6 separate regions of the Homo sapiens genome follow, and regions 1, 2, 3, 4 and 5 are each linked to region 6. The links are contacts of gene promoters, found by promoter capture Hi-C in human tissues and cell types (Jung and others, 2019). All regions are on one chromosome and are shown on one strand. The core of a region is centred on a gene start or on the middle of the fragment in contact, and the rest is flanking DNA. Distances in the headings are between cores, read along the strand shown.

Region 1 (4,804 bases), core at 2,292-4,791, 370 kb before region 6:
CTTGGGGCACACCCTGCACCTGACCCCCACCTGACCATGCTTGAATTCCAGCCTGTTCCTCACTTGTCTGATTCCCACCTCCACTTGACCCCATCTGACCTCCCTTGGGCCATCCCCCAACCTTGGCCCCTAGGGACCAGAAGACCAAGGAAGTACTGAAGGCGCCCCCAGTCCCGCCCCTCTGACGAGCCAGCCCCTAAGCCTAGCCGGCCAAGCCGGTGGGGCGGGAATCCTGCGAGAGCGTGGGCCGTGCCTGCTGGTGACTCACAGCCGACAGGCAGCCGAGCTGCCCAGAGCAGGAGGGACCAGGCAGACGGCCAGACCCCGACGTGGGGAGGGGCTGGGCAGAGAAAGCACTGGGGTGAGAGCAGGGGAGCCCGACGTGGGGAGGGGCTGGGCAGAGAAAGCATTGGGGTGAGAGCAGGGGACAGCCCGAGAGCCCGGCTCAGGCCCTAGCATGGCTCAGGGACCACTCAGATGCAGAGGCTGAGCCGCTGTCCTGGGCCACCCGCACTGCCACGCTCCCACCTGGGCTGGCTGGGCCGCTGTCCTGGGCCACCCGCACTGCCACGCTCCCACCTGGGCTGGCTGGGCCCCTGTCCTGGGCCACCCGCACTGCCACGCTCCCACCTGGGCTGGCTGGGCCGCTGTCCTGGGCCACCCGCACTGCCACGCTCCCACCTGGGCTGGCTGGGCCCCTGTCCTGGGCCACCCGCACTGCCACGCTCCCACCTGGGCTGGCTGGGCCGCTGTCCTGGGCCACCCGCACTGCCACGCTCCCACCTGGGCTGGCTGGGCCCCTGTCCTGGGCCACCCGCACTGCCACGCTCCCACCTGGGCTGGCTGGGCCGCTGTCCTGGGCCACCCTCACTGCCACGCTCCCACCTGGGCTCTTGCTGCCAAGGGGATGTGCTTGGAGGTGGCACTGCATCAGCCCTGCCCCTGGCAGCCGAGGATGGCCCCTACAGGCCCACCGCCCCAGTGCTGCCTGTGGCACCCTTGGCAGCAGCAGCGCACAGGCACGGGGCAGATGGTGCCGAGAATGCCACAGGGCCCTGGGATTGGGAGTCCGCAGCCCGGCCAGTTCTCCAGCCAAAGCAAACAGGGTAATGCTGCTGACCGGACCATCCCAGCTGATAAAGGCTGCTCTGTATCTCATTAATTAAGATCTGGAAGCAGAGCAGAGCCCATGAGAGGCTGGCTGGGGGCGGGGGACGACATGGAAATTCCCAGGACTGACCCGGCAGCTCCCAAACACAGATCTCCGGGGCTGCTGCAGGCTGGCCCCAGACTGAAGGTGGGGACACAACCCGGGCTTCTTCCTGTCTGCACTGCCCAAGGGCAGGGAGACAGCGCTGGCCTCAAGGGACTGACCCTGAGCAGCCGTGAGGGCAGATGCAGGTCTGAGCTGTGTCCCTCTGGGGTCCCCCTAGACATCTGGGACTTCTTCCCAGCCATTCCAGGGGTCTGGCATCATCTTTTCAGAAGGCCACTAAAAGGATCCCCTAGGGTCATTCTCAGAGCCCGACTAGAGGCAGCAGCAGGCGGCGGATCTCATGGAGCCCCACCAACCCCCTAGCTCCCACCCAGAGACCTCTCCCTCCTTCTGAACTTCTCAGATGGGACTCCACCTCCTCCTGGAGGCTCTGTGCTGGTCCCCATGGATTCTGTCTGCACCCCACACACACTCCTGGGCAGGCCAGGTCTACACAGCTTTGCTCTCTGGGCCCAGCCCACCACGTAAGGGCAGGGGCCACCTAGAGCCCATGCCAGCGCCAGCCTGAGAGGAGGCAGCGTGTCCCCTCACGGGGTCGTGCCCTCCGACTCCAACCCCCTGCCTGGAGAGCCACCGATTCAGTTTCACCTATGCTGTCACCTCCCCTTCCCGGGCTCAGCCACAGGCGCCCCATGTGCCCTCTTCGGGCATCACATAAACATTCCCAGGTGACGGCCACAGCCCAGCTGTGGTGAGGGGACTGGACAGTCACAGTGGGGCTGGTCCCTCCCTCTTGGGTCCAGACCTTGGAGACGGTGGGGGCAGCCAGTGGACCGTGTGTGACCCCAGAACCGAGCACCCCCAGATGTCCTCACAGCACCAACGAATACTGAGGTTTTGGCTACCCAGCCCGGTGGGCGCAGTTTCCAATGGGGGGGCCTCGGAGGCCTCGGAATCCAGAGGGCAGCGGGCGGGATCTCGGCCAGTAACAGCAAGAATCTGTTTTCCAAAATAAACATCGGGACACGTGCTCCTACAAAGGGTTTCTGTGCCCAGCTGAGAACAAGGGTCACTGTGGAAGCTTAGCCACCCACTAATAGATTATTCTTTCTGGAGCTTTCTATTGTTTATGGCCAGCATGACTGAAATCTGGGCTGAGCAGGCAGCTGATGGGGGGGCCTGTGGCGTGGGAGGCCTGAGAGGGCAGATCCGGGAGCACCCGCCTGGGTGGCCCTGTCCCGAGCGCCTGGCCGTCCCAGGCAGGGGGTGGGCGCCCCTGGGCCGGACCCCCATCTCGGCCTCGGAGGGAGGCTGCGGCCCAGCAGGGGAGGAGGCGCAGCTGGGGATCCCACCAGGGCGCACTCACCCAGGCGCAGCAGCACCGCGCACACCTCAGCCAGGCGTCCCGGGACCGGCGCGGCACGCTCGGGCGCGCTCCAGGAGAGGCCGGCGCGCAGCAGCCGCGCGTGCACGTACTCCCGGCCCAGCGCCTTGGCCTGGGCCACCAGCTCCTTGTCTGTGGGCGAGCGGTCAAAGGCGTCCATGATCTCGGCGGCGAAGACCGAGGAGCGCCGCAGCACCTCCATGGCGGCGACGCGGGTGGGGGGCGCCGCACCTGCGGGCACAAGCGCTCAGCCGGGTGGAGGGAGGCGGCGCGGGGAACGGGGCGCGCGGGGCGCCGGGCTGGGCGTGGCCCTCGGGAAGGGCCGTAGCCGGCGCCGGGTCCGCTCTCGTTTTTTGTGCCCCAAATCTTTAAAAACCCAGCGCCACCTTCTTTCAGAGCCCGAATTCAGCTACAGACATTCCCCGAGGCTGCCAGGGACCGGTGGGGCCGCGGGGAGACGGCGGTTTGCTCCGGGGCCGCCGGGCCCGCCCTCGAAGACGAGTGCGTGGGCGGCGGGGGCGGAGGGCACAGCCCAGCGCGTCCCCCACGGCGACTGCCAGGACCCGGCCCTCCCCGCCCCGGCCCGGGGCCGCCCACCTCCGCCGCTGGCGTCCTGCGCGCGTGTCCCCGGCCTCGCCGTTCCCGTGGCACCCCGGGCACCCCGGCACGGACGCCACGCCCGCCGCGCTCACCTCTCCCGCCGCATGGCGCGGGCGCCGGGGTGGAGTTCTGGCTTCAGGATCTGCTCGCCGCCGACGACGACCTCGACCCTTCCATTCAGACCCGCGAGGACGCGCGCCCCGCCCCGGCGCCCGCCCCGTCCACGCCCGAGCCGGGAGCGCCAGGTCCACGGGGCTTCCCGCGCTCTTGGGGGGCTCCTGCCGCGGCGTCGGGGGCCTGGGCAGCGAGGTGGGCAGCGCGCGACTCCCAGCTGGCGAGAGGCTGGGCTTGGGGCTTGGCCTTCTAAGGGAAAGGCAACCCTGGGGGCGGAGTCGGGGAGACGCTTTCCGAGCTTCCCCGCTTAAGGAGGACCGAGCGAGTTCCCTGGATGCGCCCGGAGAAGGCGACCAGGCCGGAGCGGCCCCCGCAAGGCAGAGCAGTGGGGACCTAGAGCCAGCCCCAGCCGCCTGGGTGTTCCCCGGGGTCCATTTGAAAATTGGGTTGTCTTCTTCGTTCGTAGAGGTTCTTTCCAGAGTCTGGAGACGTGTTCTTGGTCCGGACGCATGCCCTTTGTATTGTAGATGGATTATTGGATTCGCATTTATTGAAGTTATTGCAAATATCTTCCTCTATTTTGTGGTTTACTTTTGCTTTGGATGAACAGGAGTTACTCTTAGTGATGTCCAATTTATCAATATTTTCTTTATGGTTAGTACCTTTTTATTGGGATATCCTCCTGTATTTCCTTTTAGAAGCTTGTTTTAGGGCTCATATTTAGATCTATGATTGATTACATATTAATTATTGTGAATGGTGTGGTACGGGGCTAGAGCTCATTTTTTTTCGTGTAGATATCCAATTGACCTGGCATCATTTATTGAAAAGCATCATTTTTTTTCCACCGAATTGGAGGAGTCCCCAACATCTCAACATAAATCAGCTGAAGAGTGTGTGTGTGTGTGTGTGTGTGTCTCGGAACTCTATCCCACTGGTTTATTTCTTTATCCTTGAATCAACCTCACACAGTTTGAACAATAGGATTAACCAACTTGGCCTAATTCACGTGTGTACAACACTATAAAATACTTATTCTTCCCATGTGCACATAGGATGTTTATCGAAATAGACCATATCATGGACCTTATACAAGTCTCAGCAAATCTCAACGGATTGAAATCTTACAGTGTGTCCTCTCTGAATTAAAAGTCAATAACAGAAAAATTACTGGAAAATCTGCAAATGCTTGGAAATTACATGTCACACTTCTAAATAATCAATGGGTCAATAATCACAGTGGAAGATTAAAATATGTTGACAAGAACAGTGAAAAATAAGACATATCAAATGCTGTACAGTGCAACTAAAACACTGCTTAGAGGAAATTTGATAGCTTTAGAAGAAGGATTGAAAATTAGGCCAGGTGAAATGACTCAGACCTGTAATCCCAGCATTTTGGGAGGCCTAGGTGGGCAGATCACCTGAGCTCAGGAGTTTGAGACCAGCCGGGTCAAAATGGTGAAAACCCCGTCTCTACTAGAGATACA
Region 2 (4,851 bases), core at 2,341-4,840, 370 kb after region 6:
GGAGGGAGCAGGTGCAGGCAGAAGAGCTTCAGATCCTGAGGCAGGTCTGAGGCCTGCAAAAGAGACAGGGAAGGAAGGGGCTTGGGTAGGAAGAGTCTCAGACTGCAGTCCCCCTCCCAGAAGCTTTCGGCCAAGCTGATGGGTGTCCCTGATAAAGCTGCCCGTCGGAGGGGTCTTGAGTGGGACGGAGGGGCCAGCACTGGTATCTCAGACTCTGTCTTTGATGAGGAGCAGTCAGGGAACAGGCAGCAAAGCTTAGTCTTGATATAACAGTAATTGCTGTAAATGTAAGTGGGTTAAATTCCAATTAAAAGGCAGAGACAGATTACATTTAAAAATTTACACAATGGGTTGCCTAAAAGAGATACGCTTTAAAAAGATACAAAAAGCTTAAAATAAGAAAGTTGGCAAAAGACATAGCAAGCAAATATGAACCAAAGAAAACTGGATTGACATGTAATGTATGACATTCAAATTTAAGGCAAAAAATTTAAAAACTCCAAACGCCAGACAAAGAAGGGCACACATACATATGGGCGCAAGGAGCCACAGAATGATAATGCATGTCTATCACAATCATTCTAATATCTAAAAATATGGCCACAATACACAGCAAGCAACATGTGCCGGAACTGCTGGGAGAAGCAGATATTTTAACAATTCTAACTGGAAATTTTAAAAAATAATAAGCATAGTTCACATTGACAAAAATTAGCAGAAATCTCCAAATCCTGATCAAAATGATTAATAACCTTAAAAAGCTTTTCTATCTGGGATCTTACCTTACTGAGTCAAGAATTAATAATTTTGAACTAATACATAATATAGAGAACTCTCTGCCCATCAAGCAGAGAGTACAACCATTTTGAACACAGGTAGAACATGTATGAAATAGACTATGTGTTAGGACCTAAAGAAGCCTCAATGAATTCCAGAGGCACAGGGCCATGCAGACTGGGCAGCTAGTTTCTGTTTGTGCTTCTAAGTTCCCTTTGCCCATTCTTCAGGAGACCACCCGAAATGCACCATACTCCTTGGGTGCCCCTGACCTCCAGCTTCCCCTTGGGTTCAGCCAAAGCACTACCAGATCAGGGGAAGAGGGAGAGTGAGGTCCAGGGTTTGCTGCCCTGGCTCCCTTCCTAGGAAACTCTGGCTGGCTGCACCCCTCCACCTGAGCCTCTGCTTCTGCCCGCCCCGCTCCCTGCAGGCAGTAAGGCTGCAGTGCCACCAAGCCCCTGGGGCTCTCCGACCTCCTGCCCACACCTTTATCAATAGTCTCTTTATCAAACCCTTCTCAAATTACCCAATTTGAGTGTGCCATCTGCTTCCTGCCAGGATCTTGACTGAATACAGACTTGTTCTCTGACAACAATGCAATTAAATTAGAACCTGGTAACAAAAGGTTATAATTAAAGAAACACTATTGAAAAGTAAATAACATTATTAAATAACCCTGGGTTTAAAAGGAGATCATCAGGAACAGTAGAAAATATTAGATATGAATGATAATGAAAACATTTTATGTCCAAATTTGTGAGACTCAGCCAAGACAGTTCTGTAGAAGGAATTTTGTAGCTTTTAATACAGTAGATCTATTGGAAAATCAGAAGGCTTAAAAAGGAGCTAAGCATTTGGTTCAAGACAGAGGAACAGATCAAATCCAAAGAACCACAAAGGAAGGAAATAATACAGAAAGACAGAAGCAAATGAAATAACGGGAAAGACGTTTAACAGAACTAAAAGTTGGAGCTCTGAAAATATTTAAAAATATTAAAAGAGAAAAATGCAAAAAACAAAATACAGGCCAAATGCATGCCAGTAATCCCAGCACTTTGGGATGCCGAGGTGGGTGGATGGCTTGACCTCAGGAGTTTGAGACCAGCCTGTGCAACAGGGCAAAATCCTGTCTCTACAAAAAATGCTAAAATTAGCTGGGCGTGGTGGCACACACTTGTAGTTCCAGCTACTAGGGAGGCTGAGGTGGGAGGATTGCTTGAGCTGGGGAGGCTGAGGCTGCAGTGAGCCAAGATGGCACCACTGTACTCCAACCTGGGAGACAGAGCAAGACCCTGTCAAAACAAACAAACAAAACCATAAAAAGCCAGAATATAAAGAAAAAAAGATATGCTAGTCATTTAAATATTAACGTGAAATAGATTAATTCCTAGAAAAATGTCTATTGCCTCGAGAAATAGAGAACTTGCCAGATTAAAAAGCATGAGGAAAACGGAGGTGATAAAGACCCCAGCCCCAGAAGCCCAGATGGTTTTATTGTTTCTGCCAGGGTTAGGAAGAACAATTGATTTCTCTTTCATGCCGGCGGTTCCAGGAAATAGTGAAGGAGGAGGAGCTGTCTAGCTGGTTTCGGCGGGGCTGGGGCTGGGAGTGGGGGGCCCGTGTCTTGCAGAAGTGGATGTGAATCTCCCCCAGCCACCTGCAAGGCGCTCGCACGCAGCTGTCGGGACTGAGGTGAAGCCGGCTCTCCCAGGAGTGTGGATGAAATGGTTAACGGCGAGGCCGCTAGGGCAGCGCAGGCCCCTGCTGGGCGCCAGGGAGGCTTAGCCAGGCGACGCCAGGATGCCCATGGCAGGGGCTCGATGGCAGGGGCTGGGCTGGAGGGGACCCAGCCCCGGGGTTCAGGGTGGCCCGAAATCCGTGCACCCCCGCACCGCAGTGCGGGGAGGTTCCCATGGGCGAGCTGCCCAGAGGCTTTGTCGAAGTTGCCCAGCCCTGGGACGGTGGAGGGAGGACGGTGGCGCGCACAGAGATACCAGTCAGCCCCTGGAACTAGGAAGGCGGCTGGGGGCGGGTGACGCAGGCTGGGGTTTGCCGGGGTGGCCCCCGAGCGGCGTGTGACTTGGGGGTCCAAGGAAGTTAAACTGGACAGGCTGGGGTGAGGACAATGGGGGCCTGGAGAGGTGGGGCGAGAGGAGGGCGGGGGGTCCCCACGAGCCGCGGTAGAGGCGAGGCGGCGGGTCCGCGGGCGGGTTGCATCATCCGGCGGGGAGGGCCTGGGTCACTGCTGCTCTTCCCCCGGCGCCCCGGCCCCGACACAAGATGCGATTTCACCGCGCACCTGTTACACCCGGAGCCAGCATCCCTGGCGCAAGGAGCCCTCCCTCCCCAGCCCCGCCCGCCCCCCACGATGCGTCTGTCGCTGGCTCAGAGCGGGGGCAGGTGGACGTTTTACGATTTCACTCGAAAGGGGCCAGGGTGGGGGACGGCCCGGCGAGGGGTCCGCGGGCAAGTTCAGGTGCACGCGGGGCTTCGGGACGGGGCGCCGCCGGGTCCCTCCCCCGCGAGGTCTCAGGGGCACGCCGGGGGAGGGGACGCTGCGTCCGAGCCGGGTGTCGGTCCCCCACCCTCCGCGGGGCCCGCCGCGGTGTCAGCGGTGACGTCACAGCCCGGCCCCGGCCCCCTCCGTCCCCAGCCCCATCCCCGCGGCGGCCGCGTCGCCCGTCCCTCTCCCCGCGCGACAAACCAGCTGGCGACTGGAGCTCGGACGCCGCGCGCAGCCAACCAGCGCCTCGGGAGGGGCGCGGGGCGGTCCGGGCCGGGGGCGCGCAGCCCGTCACGCGGCGGCGCCGTCACAGCGCAGAGCAGCCGGCGAGCGGCAGCAGCTCCGGGCTCGAGAGCCCGCGCCCATGCCAGTGCCCATGCGGGGCCGCCGCCAGTGACGCCGGAGAGGTAAGGCCGCCGCCCGCCCGGCCTCCCGCGCCCGCGCCCCTCGCCCCGCACCTGCGCCCGGCAGCCCGCGCCCGCAGCCCGCACCTGCACCCACTGCGCCCAGGGCGGGGAGCTCCGGCCCGGCGCCCTTGTTGCCGCCCAAAGCGCAGGCACTGCGAGGCCCCTTCACTTCCAGACCTTCCTCCATCTCCGCAGAGAACAATGGGGGAAATTCAGGGGTGTCCGCCCTTCAGGTGCCGCTGGAAAAGGTCCCTTTGCCGCGATCTCGGCTGCAGCGGGACCCTCGGCTTAGGCGGGCGGGGGTCGCCCTCGGGAGGGCTCGCCCGGCCGGCGGGATCGGGATACCCCCGCCCTTCCCCGGCTATTCCGCTTCCCTGGAGAGGAGCCACCGGCGGGGCTGCGGGAGGGGCTGCGCCCAGACGGCGGGGGAGGGGAGGGATGGTGAGCGGGGCTGAGGACGCTGACGCCGCACCTGGGAGGGTGCGCGGCTGCAGCGCCTCGGCCCGAGGGGAGAGCGCGCAGGGCGGCCGGGCGCGGGCAGCTGCTCCGGTTCCCGGGGTGGGGGAGGGCGGATGCTGGAGCCGGGAGCAAAACAGGCGGGCGGGGCGGGGGCTGCGGCGTTGGGGCCTGGCCACCCGCTTCGTTGCACGGCCGGCCTGCCCATCACCCCCTCCCACGCCAGAGACCCCAGCTCCCTTCCAGAAAGACCCAGCACCTGGGAGGGGCCGCCGGCGAGCACTGCCTGCGTCTCAGCAGCCAGCGCCCCTGTAACAGGTGTGGCCCGGCGGCGAGGGAGGGGCTGCGGGGCCGCAGGGTCTAGGCTGGCGGCGCGCCCCCGGCGCCCGGGCTCGGATGACACGAAGGAACAGTGGCCGCGAAGACCTTCGCACTCCCGCTTTAAGCCGCTCCTCACGCTGACTTCCCCCAAACCAGCCGCGCTGCCCTCTCGCTGGGAAGGGCCGGGGCAGCATCCCCGCCGGGAGGGAGGGTCCGCAGGAGCGGGGCGCTGGGCGCCGGTAGGTGGGGTTGGGGGGGCCCTGCCGGCCGCAGGGGCGGGAGGGGGAGGGGAAGGAGGGAATGCCAAGTCATGGGGCCTGCTGGGCGCGAGCGCGACGTCGCCCGGCGCGGACCCGATGCGCGCCCACGTCCCCGGGAATAGGGACT
Region 3 (4,723 bases), core at 64-2,563, 490 kb before region 6:
AGTCGAATGAATCGGACTTTTCTTTCTCTGTCTTGAGCAGTGCTTCTCACTAGTGTCAGGCCCCGTGTCTTTGTACATCTGTGATCTTGGCAGCTGTAGGGATGATGGTGGACTTGTGGTATTTGGCTGAGAACATCCTTGCAGTCCAGGCTAGGGGTCATGAGCATGGATGAGTCACCTGCTGGCTGTGCCCACGCTTCCCCCGCCACCATCCTCTGCTCTCTTCTTTGCCTGTGCTTTCTTCTTCCTCGACAGGGTAGAGCTGGCCTCTCTGACCAAGACAGCTGACAGTGCATCTCCTTTCCCCTGCCGTGTTTCTGGAACATTGAACTTTACCAGTTGTGTTTGTTACTATTTAGTAAGGTTATCTTCTCCATGTTGGGTTTTGCTGGAGGTGTGGGTATGGCATCTTCTAGAGAAGATCCAGACCTTTTTGGATTAAAAGTAAGGTTACAAATCACTGTGCTGTACTTGTTGTCATATGAGATTTCTGAGTTGTATTGTTGGGATAATTTTCTTTTTCTTTTTTTGAGATGGAGTCTCGCTGTGTCACCCAGGCTGGAATGCAGTGGTGTGATCTCGGCTCACTGCAACCTCCACCTCCTGGGTTCAAGCAATTCTCCTGCCTCAGCCTCCCGAGTAGCTGGGATTACAGGTGCCTGCCACCATGTCCAGCTAATATTTTGTATTAGTAGAGACAGGGTTTCACCATGTTAGCCAGGATGGTCTCGATCTCCTGACCTTGTGATCCGCCCGCCTCAGCCTCCCAAAGCGCTGGGATTATAGGGGTGAGCCACTGCGCACAGCCTGTTGGGATAATTTAAGCTTGACAGTTCAAGGCCTATGAAACAGGACCAGGGCTCAGGAGCATCCTCTTTTTCAGGCCGTTAATTAAGGAAAAGTTGAGCCAGGGCGTGACCCTCGTCGTGGACAGATACGCATTTTCTGGTGTGGCCTTCACCGGTGCCAAGGAGGTGAGTGCCACTTGGCCTCCTGTCAGGCGAGCACAGATGTGTGGACCCAGGACTGCCCTTGAATGCGAGTACGAGTGACATGCCTCAGATTACTCTGCAGAGTTTCGTGATTCTTATATTCCTTTTATCTCTTTGCTAGATTAATTTGGTTTTATCAATAAGAAGAGCAAACATTTATGTAGCTAGAGATTGTTTCACAGATAGAACCATAGTTGGTATTTGGATTATATTTTCCACACGCTTTTTTTTTTTTTTTTGGGGAGACAGTCTCTCATTCTGTCACCCAGGCTGGAGTGCAGTGGCACGATCTCAGCTCATTGCAACCTCTGCCTCCTGAGTTCAAGCGATTATCCTGCCTCAGTCTCCCGAGTATCTGGGATTATAGGCATGCACCACCGTGCCCAGCTAATTTTCATACTTTTAGTAGAGACGGGGTTTTACCATGTTGGCCAGGCTGGTCTCAAACTCCTGACCTCAAGTGATCCACTCATCTCAGCCTCCCAAAGTGCTAGGATTACAGGCATGAGCCACTGCACCCAGCCTCCAGATGCATTTTCAAAGATGGTTCATTTGTAGTACTTTTTTCCCCCGTTTTTTGAAAGAGGGCGTCTCCCTCTGTTGCCCAGGCTGGAGTACAGTGGAACAAGCAAAGCTCGCTATAACAACTCTTGGGCCCAAGTGATCCTCCCGCTTCAGCCTCCCAAAGTGCTGGGATTACAGGCGCGAGCCACCGTGCCCGGCCACGCCCTCACTTTTTAATTCTGCCATTTCTTCATGTGTTAGCTTGAGTCCTTCCCCTCTGAAGTATTACGTTGTATAATAAGGAGGACAAGACTCATGATTCCTTTGCTTCTTCCTGCTGTGCGGATCAGCTGACAGAGCCGCAGGCTCTGTGGGAGGTTCTCGTGGACGCCTTCCCTCAGCTCATTGTGCTGTTGTGTGATGTGTGGCCTGCAGTCACAGCCTTTCTGGTCCTACCTTTCCTCCGGAAACAGGACAGCATTTGGAGGGAGATGGGATGAGTAAGGGAGGGAGAGAGGGTGCTGGCACAGCCCTGGCAAGAAGGGCCAGTGGATGAGACTAGGCTGGCACATAACAGGCTCTAGGAGTGCCTGTCTTCTTCCTGCTCTTCCACGGGAGAGGAGACCCTGGCGTGTGTGTGGCAGAAAAGACACTGCCAAGGACCTCGTGCCTGTGTCCGGACCCAGCTGCTCTGTGCTGCAGGCGTTCTAGGCCGGGGGTCTCCAGGGGTTCTGTACATAGACTGTTTGCTCCTGGCCAGCAGGCCTGTAGCTGTGCTGGGAGGGCCTCCATGGGGCCTGGGCTGTGGGTGGCGGGGACTGGCAGCCGTTCTATCTACCTACTTTTCTGTCCACTTGTCTGTTTACAAAGGAAAAACAAAGGTGACACTGGAGAAACCGACACGTTTGAGGTTCTAAAAATTAAACGAGCCACAATATAAACAGTCTCACATCTTGGTACCTCACCAAATGTCCCCTCATTTTTTCCTGTTTTTACGACTTTCGAAACAAAAACCTAGACTACACTAAGCTTTAACTGTTGGGTTCTTTCTTGGCAGAATTTTTCCCTAGATTGGTGTAAACAGCCAGACGTGGGCCTTCCCAAACCCGACCTGGTCCTGTTCCTCCAGTTACAGCTGGCGGATGCTGCCAAGCGGGGAGCGTTTGGCCATGAGCGCTATGAGAACGGGGCTTTCCAGGAGCGGGCGCTCCGGTGTTTCCACCAGCTCATGAAAGACACGACTTTGAACTGGAAGGTGAGAATCCCAGAATTGCACACTAGGAAGCGTGGAGAAGTGGCTCAGGATGACACCGTGGTGGCTGGCACAGTTGTGTCAGCAAAGCTGCTGCCGTTTCCGTCTGGTCCTCCCAGATGTGGAGCCCCGGGAGTAGTCGTTCAGGGGTTCTCGGTGCCAGCAAATTCTTTTTTTTTTGAGACAGAATCTTGCTCTGGGTGCCAACCCAGGCTGGAGTGCAATGGCACGATCTCAGCTCACTGCAACCTCCGCTTCTTGGGTTCAAGTGATTCTCCTGCCTCAGCCTCCCGAGTAGCTGGGATTACAGGCACGTGCCATCATGCCTGGCTAATTTTTTTTGTAGAGATGGGGTTTCTCCACGTTGGTCAGGCTGGTCTCCAACTCCTGACCTCAGGTGATCTGCCCACCTCGGCCTCCCAAAGTGCTGGGATTATAGGCATGAGCCATCGCGCCCGGCCAGTGCCAGCAAATTCTAACCCGATGAGTTTTGCTAAATGTTGACATTTGGCGCTTTGTCTGGTGGGTCAGGTGAGAGTCTGCGCAATCCTCCACATCCTCAGCCCCTCTTCAGACACGAGCGCCAGCCTGTTCCTGCCACTGTGTCCTCTGGTGCGGCCTCTCGCTGGGCATGGGCCCTGCAGCAGCACCTGGCCATCTAAGTTCAGGAGGGTGCTGTGTGCTGCCTCTCCCTTCAGTCCTGCCTCCTTCAATCTCAGCAGTCCCAGGTCTGGCTCTGCTCCCAGGACGCTGGACTCTCCCCTCCCAGTGGACTCGCAGGCTGGCCGCCTCTGCTCCTCCCGACCGCAGCCCCTACCTCTCTCCCAGACTCCAGTCGCCCGTGCCCACCGCTGCCCACGTGGCCTCTTTCCAGGCGGCAGCCAGGGCTTCTGGCACGTCGGGCGCCAGCACTGTCGCTTGTGGCCACGGCCCGCGGAGCTTCAGTCCCTTGAGCTCCTCCTCCAGAGCAGGGCCGAGGGTCTCGCCCCAGCCCGACTGGCTGTGCCTGCAGATGATGCTGGTCACGCAGCTTTTCGTTTCCCGGAACGCAGGTGGGATAGCAGTGCCCTTTTCTGGCAGTGCGGCATTCTCTCTGGCAGTCATTCCGCCCGGAGAGGCTCATCTTGGGCGGTTCTGGGCGACAGCTGTGTGGCTGCACAGTGGCCAGTGAGAGGCATCTGGGAAGGTGGCCCTTGTGTAGGGAGTCACTCTCCTTCCGTCACGGTCACACCTCATGAAATGGTTAGATTCTTCCAAGTGCCTTCTACGCCCCTGGCAGATTTTCTAGAATTTGCTGTCCCAGAAGCTTGAGAAGGGTCCGGTGCCACCCGACAGCAGAAGCCGGGATGCCGCTGAGATGCCAGCGCTTCTGAGTCCCTCTCACTGCCTGCCTTCTGGTGGAGAGAAGGCTGTCCTGCGGGCTTATGCCCTCCCCACGCTCCTCGCACCGTTCACGCCATTGTGCAGCACAGCTGTTAGGACCAAATTCATCTTCCCCGCAAGGACGAGTCAGGCCCAGTGTTGCACTGGTCCTGCTGTCTGGCTTCTGCTGCGGAACTTCCTCACCTTCCAGGCAGGGCCCAGGAGCCACAGGAGCGTGGGCAGGGCAGGGTCTGCCCTCTGTGCTTCCGACTCGCCGCTTGCGAGCTGGAGGGACAGTCACCTCGACCTGGTGGGCTGGGTGGGTCTGGCTGTGCTGTGGGCTGTGCCTCACTCCTGCAAGTGGGCACTCAGCGGGGTTGGGGTCACGAGGCTGAGGTCGGCTTAAAGCAGGAGTGGGCAGTTGGCACATCATGTTTCTCCTGCATCAGGGCTGTGGCAGGAATGCCGGGTGACTACCGTAGACACTTGTCAAGGTTGAGGTTCAGAGAAAGGTGTGGGGTATCCCGGAGGTCACCACAGTGTGCCAGGAGGTTCAGGTTGGCCTTCCAGAGCCCGGCCTGTGTGAAATCCCCACGAGCACAGAGGACAGAAC
Region 4 (4,491 bases), core at 323-2,822, 320 kb before region 6:
CTGACTCAGCCTCCCTAGTAGCTGGGACTACAGGCACGCACTACCATGCCTGGCTAATTTTTGTATTTTTAGTAGAGATGAAGTTTCACCATGTTGGCTAGGCTGGCCCCGAACTCCCAACCTCAAGTGATCTGCCTGCCTCAGCCTCCCAAAGTGCTGGGATTACAGGTGTGAGCCACTGCTCCCAGCCTCTTCTAGGCACTTCGGAAAAGTGCAGCGATTACTGACCACACGAAGGCCAGAGATGCAGCAGGCATCTATTTACATGCATTAAATACATATATTATCTTCATGCATTTACACATTCATTCAACAAACATTACTGAGCGCCTGCCGTGGGCTGGCATGGTCCTGGGCACAGCTCCGCTTGCAGGAAGCCCACTTTCTCCTGGGGAGTCAAAGCACAAACAAAGCCAAGTCAGTACGTAAAGAAGCAGGGGTGATGAGAGATGCGGACCCAGGAGGGGTTCAAGGGGCTGTCCTGGACGCATGACAGGGAAGCATAGCTTCTTAAAGGACTCGGCAGTGCACCATGAGAAGACACGCACCAGGGAGCAGAGAGAAACGCCAGAACCCTCTCGAAGAAGGAGGGATGTGAGGAGGTCAGGATAGTCACCTGTGCTGAGCCATCATGGAGAGTGAGGGCCTGTAAGGGTGGACACAGTATGCAGGAGGGACAAATCTTCCTCACCGGACAGGTGGGGATCCCTGCGGTGCACTAGGGGAATGCACACAGGGGGCACTATGACCTGGCGGCCCACGGGGCACGGGGACGCACCAGGTAGCCTTGGGATCTGCAAGTCCCTCCCGGACCCTGGGGAGTGCCATGACGGCTTCCAGCAGCAGTCACTGTCCTGGGCGCGTCCCGCGCTCTAGCCCAGGTGGGTCCCACAACGGTGTGACCAAGGACGTCCTATGACCACCCCTTGACAGGTAAGGAAACTGAGGCAGGAGAGGCGAAGCAACTCGCCCAAGGAATGGGCTGTGCCGGTAGCTTCTCCAAGGCCTGGTGCGCCCTGGCCTGTGCGCGTGATCCCGGGCGGGGTCTCAGTACGAACAGGGGCTTCGCGATGTGGCCAGCGCGGGCTTATCTCCGTGCCGTGACGACAAGGCTAGAAGCCTGGGCGGCCGCGGTGGATCCTCGTGGCGAGGCGGGGAGGGCGCCGGGCCTCACTGGCCCGCTCGAACCAGGGCTGCGCAGGGCAGAGCCCAAGGGAGAGGGCCGCGCGGCCGCCGTAACGTCGGAGACGACGCCTGGCAGGCGCCAGCAAACGCAGAAGACCCGCGAGGGCGAGGCAGGGAGGGCGCGACGCGACAACGACCACGTGCCCCGCCCGCCCAGGCGCGCGGCCTGCCGGGAGACGCAGTCCAAACCTTTCGGGAGCAGGACTAGGGGTCCCAGAGAGCCTCGCGGCGCGCATGCGAGCCCCGGCCCCCTCTCGCGCAGCCTGCCGGGACTTGTAGTCCAACGCCAGCAGGCTTCCGGGCCCGGAGTGGGCGGTGGGACTCGGGGTCCCAGAGAGCCGTGCGCGGGCCGCGACGCCGAGCACCGCCCTCGCCGTCGCCTCCGGGCTTTCTCCGGTCGCTGCCGCCACCACCGTTGCTTCGCGGGCTGGGAGGCCCGGGGTCCCCGGGCGAACAGAGGCTGCGGGTGGGAGCCTTCGCGGGCGCTGCAGAGCGGGCCGGGGGAGGCCGGGATGGAGCCCCGCGGAGGTGGGCGCGCTGCCGGGCGGGGCGCTTGCGGCGATTGGGGAGGGGGCAGAGGGAGGGGCCCGGGGCGGGGCTCGGTGGCGGGGACACCGGGGCGGGGGCACCGGGAGGAAGCTGCCTTGGAAGAGGTGGGGGCGGCGACGGGAGGGGCGGCGAGCCCCCGGGAGCCTGGGCGTTAGGCCCGGGCGTGGCGGGGCCCCGGCGGCCTGGGGGGTCTCCTGGGCCCCCCCCCACCCATGGAGCCCGCCGCCCCGGAGGTCGGTCTCAGATGACTGAACTGGGCACCGAGCGCCCCTGGTGTCCCTCGCAGTGGACTGACGCCGCAGGGGCGAGCTAGCCGGCTCCGCGCCTCTCCGCGGGATCCAGACGCCTCCTGGGGCTGCTGGCGGAGGGTCTGAGGCGGCGCGGCCATGGCTCACCTCCGGGGATTTGCCAACCAGGTGAGAAGGGTGCAGGTCAGGAAGACTAGCGGCCTCTCACCGAGGGGCTCCAGAGTCTCCTGGGGGTTCAGAGGGGAGCGCCACGCCGGAGCGGGCAGTGGGGTGAGGGAAGGAGCGCGCGTCGTGCGACCAGCGGAGCCGTCCTGAGGTGGGCGCAGGGCGGCCCCGGGGCTCTGCCGTGTGCCTGTGGCGTTTTGCGTGGCAGAAGCTCGCAGGCCTCTAGAAACCGAGCCCCTGGTGGCTCCGCCTGTGCGAGGGCGGTGGAGGTGCGTGAAGAGACACCGGCGCAGGGACGGGGCGCTGCCCCCAGCGCGGGGCGGGAACCTCATGTCAGCATCCGAAGGCAGTGGAAGGTCGGGGGCCACCCTGCGGCCTCGGCCTGGGCCGCGGGTCATTCTGGCCGTGTTGGGCTGGGCAGGGGCTGTAGGGGAGACCCTGGCGGGCGCTGAGGGGCTGAGATTGTGGAGAAGCAGATCTGAGTGGCCGGTGTGCAGGGAAAGCAGAGAACACGTGTGTGCTTTGGCCCAGGGGAGGGTGAAAAGGCTGCTCTGTCAGGACCGTTTAACCCCTGCGACGGGCGGTTGCCCGAACATGAGACTCATCTTTCTTCTTTAAAGAAGTCGTTTCCACTATGGAGCCACCTTTAAGCGTCTGGTGGGACAGCCTCGGAGGGAGCCACTACGGCGAGCCCTTAGCCTGGAATGAGGACCAGCTGCTGGTGCCAAAGGGCTTGCCGGGGAAGGAGGGTGGGGTCAGCCAACCTGGGGCCTGGGGACTTGCATTCTCTACCCCTCCCCACTTTTTTGACTCTGGCCGCTGGGTTTTCTTACATCTTAGCTGTTCGGTTTTATTCTCCTTGATGCCTTGGCTCTACCTAAGGCGTTGGAATCGCCGCTAAAATGTGTGGCCCTCCTTGTTCACTCCTATGTGCTGAATGGAGAGTTGGGCCTGCAGTGGAACAGGAAGGGCGTCTGTTCGCGTAGGGGCAGGAACTGGAGTCAGGGCTGCTTTGGAGGAAACCGGACCAGCCTAGAGACCCGGAACACCATGTGCAGCTGTTGGGCCAGGCAACCTGGACCTGCGTGGTCACAGATGAGACTGGGGCTTGCTGACTGTTGCTGAATTAAGCTAACAGATTTTTGGTTTGCTTTTGGCATTCTGTATCTGGTAACTTACATGACTAAGGTGCTGGGAGAAAAATCTGCCACCAGTTTATTTTACTTTATTTTTATTTTTTTGAGACGGAGTTTCGCTTTTGTTGCCCAGGTTGGAGTGCAATGGTGCAATCTCAGCTCACTGCACCCTCTGCCTCCCAAGTACAAGCGATTCTCCTGTCTTGGCCTCCCAAGTAGCTTGGATTACAGGCATGCGCCACCATGCCCAGCTAATTTTGTATTTTTAGTAGAGACGGAGTTTCACCATGTTGGTCAGGCTGGTCTCAAACTCCTGACCTCAGGTGATCTGCTTGCCCTGGCCTCCCAACGTGCTGGGATTACAGGCATGAGCCACCGCGCTCGGCCACCAGTTTATTTTTAAGAACTGCAGAAATAACTCCTTTGGGTCACAGGATGAGAAATTGGAGCTCCGAGGTGCCCTGTAACTGTGTGCTATTGGTTCTTGGTGCGATCGCACACAGGGAAGGGAGTGCGGGCACATTGGAGAAGGGATTCCAAAGGTAGGAAGCTCCTTTTGTCCTTTTAGGGATCCCTTTGTCCCAGCCTGGATGATGAGAGACTTGACTTCATATAGTGGCAGAAAACCTGAGGGGCTGTGGTTTTCTCCTGAGATGGTTGCCATGGTGTCCTGTGGACCTGTGGGGCAGCCCCTTTGTGGGAGAGTGGGGCGCGTTCCCCCCATAGCCTGTGCTCCTGCCTTAGACTTCTCCCCTCTACCTGGCCAGTTCCTGCCTGGCCCTGGAGGGCCCGAATGGCTGTGGGGTGCCAGAGCACTGTATCACCACTCAGCTATGTGTGCTGGGTCATTCCCCTTGTTTTGTGGGGCAACACTGACAGCAGACACATTGGCAAGTGGAGGCCCCAGACCTGGCAGCCCCAGGGCTAATGTGGAGAACAGGTGTCCACCGCTCGAGTCAGCTGAGTGGCCCGAGTGATCATCCAGGCCACAGCTGCTGCTACATCCAAAAGAGGATTCGCAGCCTCCAGGCCAGGGGCCCACTTACCCTTTCTTCTCCAGGTGGGGGTGGGGATGGCTTGCCTTGGCTTGGCCTGCGATGTCATTGTAGGGCCAGGATCACAGCCAAGAGGGTTCCTGTCACACAGTTTCTGCTTGGGCTGATGAGCCCTGGCTCTGGCTTAGGGGTCCGCTGTGCTCCCCTGCTGTG
Region 5 (4,561 bases), core at 271-2,770, 320 kb after region 6:
TGAGCTCCCGGGAGTCAGGGCTGCACCTGGCCCAGGGCTGGCACAAAGAGTGTACCTGGTCCAGGGCTGGCACACCACAGGTGTGATGGATGACAGACTGAAGGATGAGGGGTGAGTGAGGCAGCAGCCTTGACCTCTGTTGGAGCTGGGGACTCCAGGAATCAGGCCCTCACCCCCTCCCTGTCTCTGCCCTATCCTGTGTGCTGTTCAGGGCCAGGTTGTGGGAGGGGAAGAACCTGCGGCCAAGGGGACAGAATGGGGAAAAGGGAAGCCATATACCACAGGCATCTGAGCCTGCGTGCCCTGATGTCCACTTGGGGTCCTGGCCTCTGCCGACCCTGGGTCCCCTTGAAAAGTTTGTGGACTTGGGGTTGGGACCCTCTTGGCTGTTGCGGTCGCGTATTAACCAGCATGGCCATTGTGGAGCTCACCAAGCTGATGTCCCTCAATGCCACAATCAATCATTAAACCCAGGGCACACTCCTGCTCCTGTGTCTCTCCCAGAAAAGTGTACTCCGGAGGCGAATACTCTGCCCATACCTCCATATTTTGTGTATCACATCAAGATTCCAGAAGGAAGGCTGCTGAGATTTGAGGGGAGGCTTCAGCTTCTGAAACCCCACCCTGTCACAAAGCAGAGCTGGTGCCTGGGGCCCTGGACAGCGGCCGGGGCTCTCAGGAGTGTGTGCTGGGACCAGAGGCTTCCCTGTAGTTCCGTCCTGCACATGCTCCAGAAACAGCTCAAGGAGACTGGGGGGATCGGGGCACCTGTGCTGCTCCCAGCCCTATCAGAGTCAGGCCTCATGAGTGCCCGACACCGCCTGGAGGAGGCAGTGGGCTGGCAGGAGGTTCGTGCGCACAGGGCCACAAGGTGGGTAAGCGCTCACCCAGGAACGGGGGCTGCCAGCTTCAAACAGAGGGAGGCCAGGGAGGCCTTGAAGGATGGATCCAGGGCCATCCCCACCTGGGCCTCTCCCTTACCTATGCGCTCCCCGATGTCCACGGCTCGCTGCCCCCAAATGCCATTGGCCCCAACCAGGAAGGAGTCCCCAGGCTCCAGCACATTGACCAGGGCGGCCTCCAGGGCACAGTGTCCCGAGCCAGAGATGACCAGTGTGAGTGGGTTCCTGGTCTGGAACACGTACTGGATGCCTTCCTTGATCTCGTCCATGATCTGCATGCGGGTGGTATAGGGTGAGACCCAGGCTCCCCGCCTCCCCAAGTGAGGAGGCAGTGACCCCCTTCCCTCGTCCACGATCTGTGGGTGGGAACATGGGTGAGACCCAGGCCCCCCGAGTGACCCCCACTCCTACCTGGTACATATCCTTGCTCATGGACCCGATCATCTGCAGCCCCCCGGCTGCCATGATGCGAGGAGGCAGGTTGGAAGGACCAGGCCCCAGCAGGAGCTGGTTGGGGATGGAGAGGGGCTTGAGCAGGGCCTTGGGGGGGGTCACCAGCAGCTTGTGAGAGGCCATGGTCCGCACCCAACCTGCCGCTCGGGAACCTGGGGCTGCACTGGCCTTGGCCAAAGCCTGGAATATTTCCCAGCAGGGCGGACACAGAGGTGAGAGGTGAGGATTGGTGGATGGGCTTCCGTGGCAGCCCTGCCTTTTGTTCCCTGAGGCTTATCTGTGCTTGTGCTGCGGGTCACGGCCAGGCAGCAGGGGACGAAGCCCTCAGGCAGAGGGAGCCCCCAGGGCTGAGTGACAGAAAAACAGAGTGTGACAAAGCTGTCCTCACCCCAGCCCTCCTCGCTCCCACTCTGAGTCCTGCACGTCCAGCCCCTCTTATTCTGCTTAGCTCAGGGGTGAGAGAAGTGTTTCTTAAAGGGTCGGAGCACAGATAATTGAGGCTTGGCAGGCCCTGTGGTCTATGTTGCAACAACTCAACCCTGCTGCGTGCTTGCAAAGCAGCTGCCAGAGGTGTGGGCGTGTTCCTATAAAACTTTATTTACAAAAAGCAGGTGGCAGGCCAGATTGGGCCCATGGACTGTGGTTTGCTGACCCTGGCGCAGCTGATGGGAAGGCTTGTAAACCAAAAATAAAATTCGAAGGCCCCCCAGCAACCATCTGAATGGGGTTCCCTGTCCGCCAGGGTGCTCTAAACTTTAACCCGGAAGACGTTCAGGCCATGCCACATCATAACCCCCAGCATTAACATCGACATAGACCTTAAGTCTGATAGGAAGCATTTACCATCTATTTTCTCTCTAAATCCCGCTACCTGAAGGCATCATCTGCTCCCTGCAACCCCTATTTCATAACCCAGACACTCCTTTCTGCTGATAATAATTCTTCAGTCAGTTGCCAATCAAAATATGTTTAAATCTACCTATGACCTGGAAGCCCCCCAATTCAAGTTGTCCCGCCCTTCCAGATGGAACCAATGTAAATCTCCCATGTATTGATTGATGCCTCATATCTCCCTAAAATGTATAAAAGCAAGCTGTGCCCCGACCACCTTGGGCCCTTGTGGTCAGGGGTGCACCCTTGAGCTTGGCAAGGATGTCCTCCCTCCTGAGGCTGTACCACGGGTGCATCCTTAGCCTTGGCAACAAAAACTTTCTAAATTAATTGAGACCTGTTTGAGGTACTTTTTGGTTTACAGGCTCAATTTAGCAAGCAAACCTGCATGGTATACAGACACACACAAGGCAGGGGTTGCACAGTGAGTTTCAGCATGCTGCATTCCAGAGATGTATAGAAATTCTAGTTATGTATAAGTTTTAGGTTGAAAAGAGGCCTGGAACCAGGTGCCAACTTTAGATAATAGGGAAGTCTAATTCATTCTACATTTCTCAAATAAAGAGGCTCCCCTCCACCCACCCCACCTGGGGCCTGCTTGATGGTCTCCAGGTGATCTTTGCTGTCCTCATTTTCCCTCTGACAAATATCTTGGTGAAATCTTTGACCCTTCCTTTTCTGCCATGCTCATGTCCACCTGCTTCCTGTTGGGGTCTCAAGAAAGGGGAAACGGCACAGTGAAGAGGGGTGTCCAGTGCGCCTGACTACTTGCTGCTGAAAGGGAGTTCAGGGGGGTAGGTCACGTTTTTCCCTTTCTTGCTCTCGGTCATGAAGGGAATAAAGGGTCATGAAAACTTGTGCACGGAGGCACGTGATGGGATTCCATCAAGAAGCCCCACGTAAATGGGAGCTGCAGTTGCAGGCCGGTATTTCCATCAAGAAGCCCCATGTAAATCGAGCTGCAGTTGCAGGCCAGTGTTGGGAATGCATAGCCTTCTGCAGGTGGAATTGTTCTCATGTAGAACATAGAAAAGCAATCAGAGCATTAAAAAGGCAGGGACCAAATATTAAAAGAAAAATGACAGAAGATAAAGGTCTAAGGAATGGGGGAAGCCAAGTGATTTTTTGAAAACCAATCAGTAAAAGTTTTGGCCCAGTCTTGGTTGCTTTGGGAAAGTGTGTGTAGCCATTTGGCTTGTTTGATGATTTCTTGGGCATCGGTTTCCACTTCTCCAGACACATAAATGTAGGTGCAACGGGTCCTGTTGATGACAGCACAGACCCCTCCTTGTTCAGCTAGGAGGTAATCCAGAACTCACCTGTTACCAGACACCAAAATCCTGCTTGTGAGTCTAATGACTTGTAGAGCTGATAGATGGGTGCCAGCTTTTGCTATTTCAAGGGAGGCGGTAGGTTCTCTTACTTGTGATTTCCTGGTAAGTAAAACCTCCCCAAGGGGTAAGAGTTGTGATAGTTCCCACAACTCCGGCCACAGTAAGTCCCAGGGCCCTTTTCCTTCTAGAAGGGAATTCTGAATTAGAAGTGATGTTTAAGACAGTGATTTGGGTGGGAGCTATTGTTCCCAGGCTACAATCACCATAGTGAAGAGAATGATCAAGGTGGGATAGGGCCAAAGCTTGAAAAGGGTTTAAATAGTTTTTAGTGGGGCTGCTAAGCCATAAGAGCCCAGGAGGGGCAGGATGATTATTTTAATTAAAATGTTGGGAAAAAAGGAAATGGGCCTTTTGACAGTTTTAAGAGGACTCATATGGGGGAAAGACTATGTTTATGTACTGATGGAGGAGGTTTAAAAGCAGGCGGGTGCCAGTGCATGGCATAGGATGTAAACCAGGTGGCACGGTGGTTATTTCCTGCACTGGTTGCATCATTATAGTAACATACATGAAGGTATTAGGAGTGCAGGGGTGCTGTATACTGGGAGCCCCACTATACTGGTCCAGTTTAACGGCTTATAAATTGGCAGTGATGAGATAGAGTCAGATTTTTTTTTTTTTTTTTTTTGAGATGGAGTCTCACTCAGTTGCCCAGGCTGGAGTGAAGTGGTGTGACCTTGGCTCACTGCAACCTCTGCTCCTGGGTTCAAGCGATTCTCCTGCCTCAGCCTCCTGAGTAGCTGGGATTACAGGCACCTGCCACCACGCCCTGCTAATTTTTGTATTTTTAGTAGAGACAGGGTTTCACCATGTTGGTCAGACTGGTCTCGAACTCCTGACCTCAGGTGATCCACCCACCTCTACCTCCCAAAGTGTTAGGATTACAGGTGTGAGCCAGCGCACCTGGCCAGAGTCAGAGTT
Region 6 (4,633 bases), core at 1,373-3,872:
CCCTCAGGACCAACACGGGTGTGGTACAGGTGCTGGGAGGGGCTCACCGATCCGGGGCTTGGCAGGACTCCCAGCTCTGCAGGCGGCCGCTTGCTGTCCACCTGGCTGGAAGGCATGGAGGATGGAGAAGCATATCAGCATCAGCATCTGCCCTCGACAACTACACCCACCCCGCCCCACCCTGAAGCCGTCCTCGCCTCCAACCCGTCCCCGCCCTGCCCCAGAACACTCAGGACCACAGAAGAATGTTCGGCGGGTGGGTAGGGGGTGGAGGGGGAAGCCCCTCTGCTGTGTGGGGGCACAGGATGCGCAGGCGCGGGGAGCGGCAGGCAGGGCCAGAGGGCACCACCAGCCCTGGGCCTCCAGCCGGCTCCCCTCCTCCTTGGGCCAGGCCCATGGCAAGGGTCAGGTTGGCGGGAAGCATGGCCAGGACCAGGGGTGCCTGCCTTGCTGGCCTCCAGGGGCAGAGGGGAGCCGGACTGCTCCCAAAGGGGCCCTGAGGACAGAGTTGGCCATGGCGACCGAGAGTGTCTGGATGCTTGAGGTGAGAGGCCCTGTGCCCTCCCTGGAGGCTCATCTCAGCTGTGCTTGGGGCGGCAGGAAGGGGTCCCGTGTCCACCCGCAGGCTGCTGGGGCAGACGTGTGGCCCAGGAGAACCAGGAAGAGGGCCCTCCACGGCCAGGGCCTCCCGCATGGCCTTGAAGGCCCGGGACCCAGCCTCTCCCCACAGGCTCACAGCGCATCCATGGCCTCCTAGTGACAAGGTGGAGCCCTACAGATGGCCCTGGGTGCTGCTGTGGCCCTGCACTGACTGGGACTGACACCACAGGGAGGGCCCCGCCCTGGTCTTGCCTTTGCCTGGCCAGGCCCCCCTTACCCTCCTGGAGCTCCTGTCTGAACATCAGTGGGTTCTGCTCGGTTCTCCACAGCCAGGCCAGGCCAGGAGAGCGGTGATCTGACTGTGTGTGTTGAGGACTGGGTGGCGAGGGCTTGGGGGTTGCCGGGGGATGCAGGAGAAACACGGTGATGCCCATCCACCCCCAGAGGCTCTGGGCCCAGGGTGGGGGCATAGACCCAGGCAGGGGAGGACCTCTCAAGTCGCACCACAGTCTCCTGGGTGCTGTTACCTCCGAGGCGTGGGCTGTGCTCCCGTAAGAGCCCCTCTTCTCTGCCTCAGGGGGGCTCACATCGATCAGGACGGTGCTGTCCTCTTCCTGGGCCCGTCGCCGCAGCATCCTGCTCCTGCACCCAGCAAGGCCGGGTGGGGATGGGGGTCAGAGAGGGGATGGGTGAGACCCGTTCCTGGGGCCACCACACTGCCTGCAGTGAGCTCACTTTACAGACTCGACTCGGAGTAGAATGGGGCTGGGCTGGCTCGGCAGACTCTCCTGGCCATGAGCACATGGAGAACCCCCTAGCCAGCCACGAGCTCCAGGAAGAAACCAGTGCCGGGGCGGGAGCGTCTGGCAGGCCTGGCACAGCAGGCGTCTGTCTGTCCATCCAGTGAGTGCCCGTGTCCCCCAGCCCTGAATGCCGTCCACTCTGCCTGGGTACTCAGTGGAGCCTGAGAAGGCCCAGAAAGGTGGGCCTGGAGTACAGACACCTCTCCCTCTCTTATCCGTAGGGTGGAGCCATGTGAGCCAGGGACAGGAAACCCCTCAAGTCGCCTGCCTTCGCTCATGGCCTGAGGACCCAGTGCCAGGACCCATAGGCCCTGAGCTCCCCAGCAAGGCGGGCCTGATGGAGCCCGGCCTCACAACTCTTGGGGGTCCCAGCTTCCTCCCGCACCTTCGCCCCGGGGGTCTCTCTCTGTGGGAGGACAGGTGCCGTGGCTCCTAGTCTTGGGCTGGCAAAACGGGGCCAGGAGCACGACATCTGTGGCCCTGGAAGGAGAGGGTTCGAGCTGGGGCTGGCATTTGGAGCTGCGACGATGACCGGAGGGTGTGACCATGGAGGCGCCGCAGGAGGTCGGAGGGGCAGCCTTCTAGTTCTACCCTTCACTTCACATTAGCGGAGGCCCAGAGGGACAGAGACTGAGCCTGGGCCGCCTGCACCTGCCTAACCCTGAAGCCCGAGCCAGGTCTCAGTGTTAGGACTCGGCCCCGGCCCCAGGCTGGGAGCCTCACTACGGACTGTGGGGTGTTCCTGGAGGAAAGTCCCCGAGGAGTTTCGGCCACCCAGCAGCCCCTCATGCCCCCATCCTTCTGTGGTGGGCAGGCGGGCCCCTCCTCAGAGCTCTCTGCAGAAAGAATGGGGATGCCCCCCACCCCAACGAAGGGACCTGCTCCATGGGGGAGCCCCTGGGCAGGCAGGAAGCCAACCCCAGCTGGGTGTACCCCGTCCAGAGCCGCACTGAGTGTGTGTCCCTCCTCGTGCCCCAAGGGGCTTTGGGGACCAGGGCGGGCCCTGGCACTGCCTCCCCACAGGCCAGGGTGTGTGAAAGTCCCGGTGGGCTGGGGTGCCGCCCTGCCTCCCTAGAGTCCAACGCTCCACCTTCTCCCTGTGGCCCACACGTCTAGGCTGGGTCCCCACCTGGCACAGTGGCTTCCGGAAGAGGTCTCGGAGGTCATGGCCCACCTCTCAGCGTGAGCCTGGTCTCGGCAGTAGAGTCCCGTCCTCACTGCGGGACAGAGGGTGGGGAGGGGTGGCCCTTGGAGCCCCGCCCAGGCAGTGGCAGCCATTCGCATGCCCTCACCTTGCCTGCAAGTGGGCCAGGAAGCAGGCAGGGGAGGTGCCCAGCACAGCTGGCCAGGGCAAGGCTTCCCGGCTCCTGGAGCAGGATCTATCTTTGTTTAAATAGGGGGTGTGGGGCTCAGAGCTGCAGACAGAGGCAGCCCACTTGGCTGGGCTTTCACACACCCGCATGCAAATGCTGCCGTCCTCCTGGGAACCTTATTTGCTTAGAGATTTCAGGGCTGGCATCAGCTGTCATAGTTGCTGCCTTGGAGGGTCTCGAGGAGGTGGGATTCCACAGGAACAGCCACAAGTGCCACCTCTGCTGGAAGCCTTGCCAGGCAGACCTCGTAAGCTCTGTTTATGTGGGGGGAAACTGAGGCTCCTTGAGGTTACGTAGCATGTGCTGAGTGGTGGGCCAGGGTTTCACCCGGGGGCTGGGGAGATTGGGAGACCCAGATCACACTGCTGGCTCTGCTAATGCCTGAGGGGTGACCTCAGGCACATCCCATGCTCAGGGCCCCATCTGCAAAAGGACAGGAGGGGTCCTAGCCTTCCTCCCATCCTTTCCGCCCTCCTCCTCGTCCTCATTCTCCTCCTAGCCCTCCTCTTTCTCCTCCTAGCCCTCCTCCCCCTCCTCCTTTCTCCCCCTCCTCCTATCCTTTCTCCCCACCTTCCCTCTCCTCCTTCTCCTCCTATTGTTTCTCCCCCCTACTCCTCCCTCTCCTTCTCCTCCTATCCGTTCTCCCCTCTCCCTCTCCTCCTATCATTTCTCCCCCCAACTCCTCCTCCTCCTCCTCTTTCTCCCCACTCCCCCTCCTCCTATCGTTTCTCCCCCTCCCCCCCACTTCTCCCTCTCCTCTTCCTTCTCCTCCTTTCTCCCCACTCCCCTCCTCCTGTTTCTCCCCCTCCCCCCACTTCTCCCTCTCCTCCTCCTTCTCCTCCTATCCTTTCTCCCCGCCCCTCCTCTTCCCCTCTCCCTCCCCCTCCCCCTTTCCTCCTTGGTGCCTGGCAGTGTCTGAGAACCTACCACCCGTGCTCCTCGCCCTCCATGCACAACTGCACTGGGGAGCCCCAAGCTCAGCTTGCTGTTCCAGGTGCCCCCTTCTGCCTGTTGAAATCCCTCCAGGCGGACCCTCATCCTGGCTGCAGCTTTCCCTTATACCTATGCCCCTCTGTGCTTGGCACCTCCCAAGGGGCCCTGTTCTTGGACCTGTGTTGTGCCTCGGAACAGCGGGAAGGCCCTGCAGGCCGGGTTCCCTGTCAGCACCAGCAGAGCCTGGGCGGCAGGACCTTGGGGCCCTGGGCCTCAGGGCATCTGCATGAGAGGTCTCTGCTTGGCCAAGCTCAGCCTGCAGGCGCCTGAGGTGGATCCCTGGACGAGGGCTGGACTGGGGAAGTGCTCCAGAAACCAGGAAAGGAGTCGGGAGGCAGGAGGGGAGGGAGGATGAGCGGGGCACCATCTCCCCAAGACCTGTGGAGGGTGGCCTCAGCCTGCCATGGGCACTCTGCAGGGGAGGCAAGACGAAGCGTTTCCTCACCTGGATGCAACTGTAGGCTCTTACTCTGCTCAGTCATTGGCCAAGGACCCTCCCAGGAAGACATGCCACCTCCCAGGAGCTCCTGGCTCTCTGCTCTTGGTGACAAAGTGGCTCTGGTGGCCTCAGGGCTGTCTACTCAAGAGCTTCAGGGCCGGCTGCTGGAGGTGACCACACCCCAGTGGGAGCCCTTTCAGCGACAGTGCACGCACAACACCTAAAGGGGGTTCGGCCCTGAGGAGTGTCTTTCCATTTTTACTTCATACAACTCTGTTTGGGTGGGTGGTTTTTTCAAGTTGTGTTACTTCTGAGGGAAAGGAAGGAAGGGAGGGAGGGAGAAAAGCCGCAACCAGCACAGGGGGCCCGCCAGGTTCCAGGCCTTGGGAAGAGCCCAGGCCCAGAATCTGCTGCACCATCTTTCT

Evidence for each region. Contacts are between HindIII fragments. The study calls those that stand out against the background at their distance.
Region 1: a contact is called between the fragment with the promoter of BOK here and the fragment with the promoter of ANO7 in region 6, in 2 of the 25 tissues and cell types used here (lymphoblastoid cells and mesenchymal stem cells).
Region 2: the fragment with the promoter of KIF1A here is called in contact with the fragment with the promoter of ANO7 in region 6 in 2 of the 25 tissues and cell types used here (IMR-90 fibroblasts and spleen).
Region 3: a fragment that was not itself captured here is called in contact with the fragment with the promoter of ANO7 in region 6 in 1 of the 25 tissues and cell types used here (pancreas).
Region 4: a contact is called between the fragment with the promoter of STK25 here and the fragment with the promoter of ANO7 in region 6, in 2 of the 25 tissues and cell types used here (IMR-90 fibroblasts and lymphoblastoid cells).
Region 5: the fragment with the promoter of AGXT here is called in contact with the fragment with the promoter of ANO7 in region 6 in 3 of the 25 tissues and cell types used here (IMR-90 fibroblasts, adrenal gland and mesendoderm cells).

Annotation. Positions count from the first base shown.
Region 1 is chr2:241,557,482-241,562,285 of GRCh38, reverse strand. BOK (BCL2 family apoptosis regulator BOK) reads right to left here and starts at 3,541. Exons shown (of 5, transcript NM_032515.5): 1 at 3,293-3,541; 2 at 2,583-2,831. The coding sequence starts at 2,802. BOK-AS1 (BOK antisense RNA 1) reads left to right here and starts at 3,143. Exons shown (of 2, transcript NR_033346.1): 1 at 3,143-3,509. RefSeq lists silencers at 2,519-2,648, 2,699-2,768, 2,799-2,878. The HindIII fragment of the contact is 1,356 bases long and covers 3,157-4,512 here.
Region 2 is chr2:240,818,958-240,823,808 of GRCh38, reverse strand. KIF1A (kinesin family member 1A) reads left to right here and starts at 3,590. Exons shown (of 49, transcript NM_001244008.2): 1 at 3,590-3,687. RefSeq lists an enhancer at 2,604-3,178. The HindIII fragment of the contact is 12,815 bases long and covers 576-4,851 here.
Region 3 is chr2:241,676,480-241,681,202 of GRCh38, reverse strand. It overlaps DTYMK (deoxythymidylate kinase), which reads left to right. Exons shown (of 5, transcript NM_012145.4): 3 at 884-974; 4 at 2,554-2,751. Among named protein-coding and RNA genes, the nearest start is that of DTYMK, 8.0 kb to the left of the region's middle. The HindIII fragment of the contact is 3,955 bases long and covers 1-3,290 here.
Region 4 is chr2:241,505,665-241,510,155 of GRCh38, reverse strand. It overlaps STK25 (serine/threonine kinase 25), which reads left to right and starts at 1,572. Exons shown (of 12, transcript NM_001271977.2): 1 at 1,572-1,713; 2 at 2,021-2,150. The coding sequence starts at 2,121. LOC107985788 (a long non-coding RNA gene) reads right to left here and starts at 1,284. Exons shown (of 2, transcript XR_001739177.2): 1 at 1,059-1,284; 2 at 261-718. RefSeq lists silencers at 1,168-1,937, 2,218-2,267 and enhancers at 2,698-2,747, 3,903-4,439. The HindIII fragment of the contact is 21,130 bases long and covers 1-4,491 here.
Region 5 is chr2:240,865,783-240,870,343 of GRCh38, reverse strand. It overlaps AGXT (alanine--glyoxylate aminotransferase), which reads right to left and starts at 1,520. Exons shown (of 11, transcript NM_000030.3): 1 at 1,314-1,520; 2 at 982-1,174. The coding sequence starts at 1,478. RefSeq lists an enhancer at 1,501-2,001. The HindIII fragment of the contact is 24,692 bases long and covers 1-4,561 here.
Region 6 is chr2:241,186,666-241,191,298 of GRCh38, reverse strand. It overlaps ANO7 (anoctamin 7), which reads right to left and starts at 2,622. Exons shown (of 25, transcript NM_001370694.2): 1 at 2,533-2,622; 2 at 1,128-1,242; 3 at 48-105. The coding sequence starts at 1,235. It overlaps LOC105373971 (a long non-coding RNA gene), which reads left to right and starts at 2,877. Exons shown (of 3, transcript XR_924064.3): 1 at 2,877-3,023. RefSeq lists enhancers at 49-549, 550-1,050, 1,984-2,667, 2,668-3,352, 4,548-4,633. The HindIII fragment of the contact is 24,444 bases long and covers 1-4,633 here.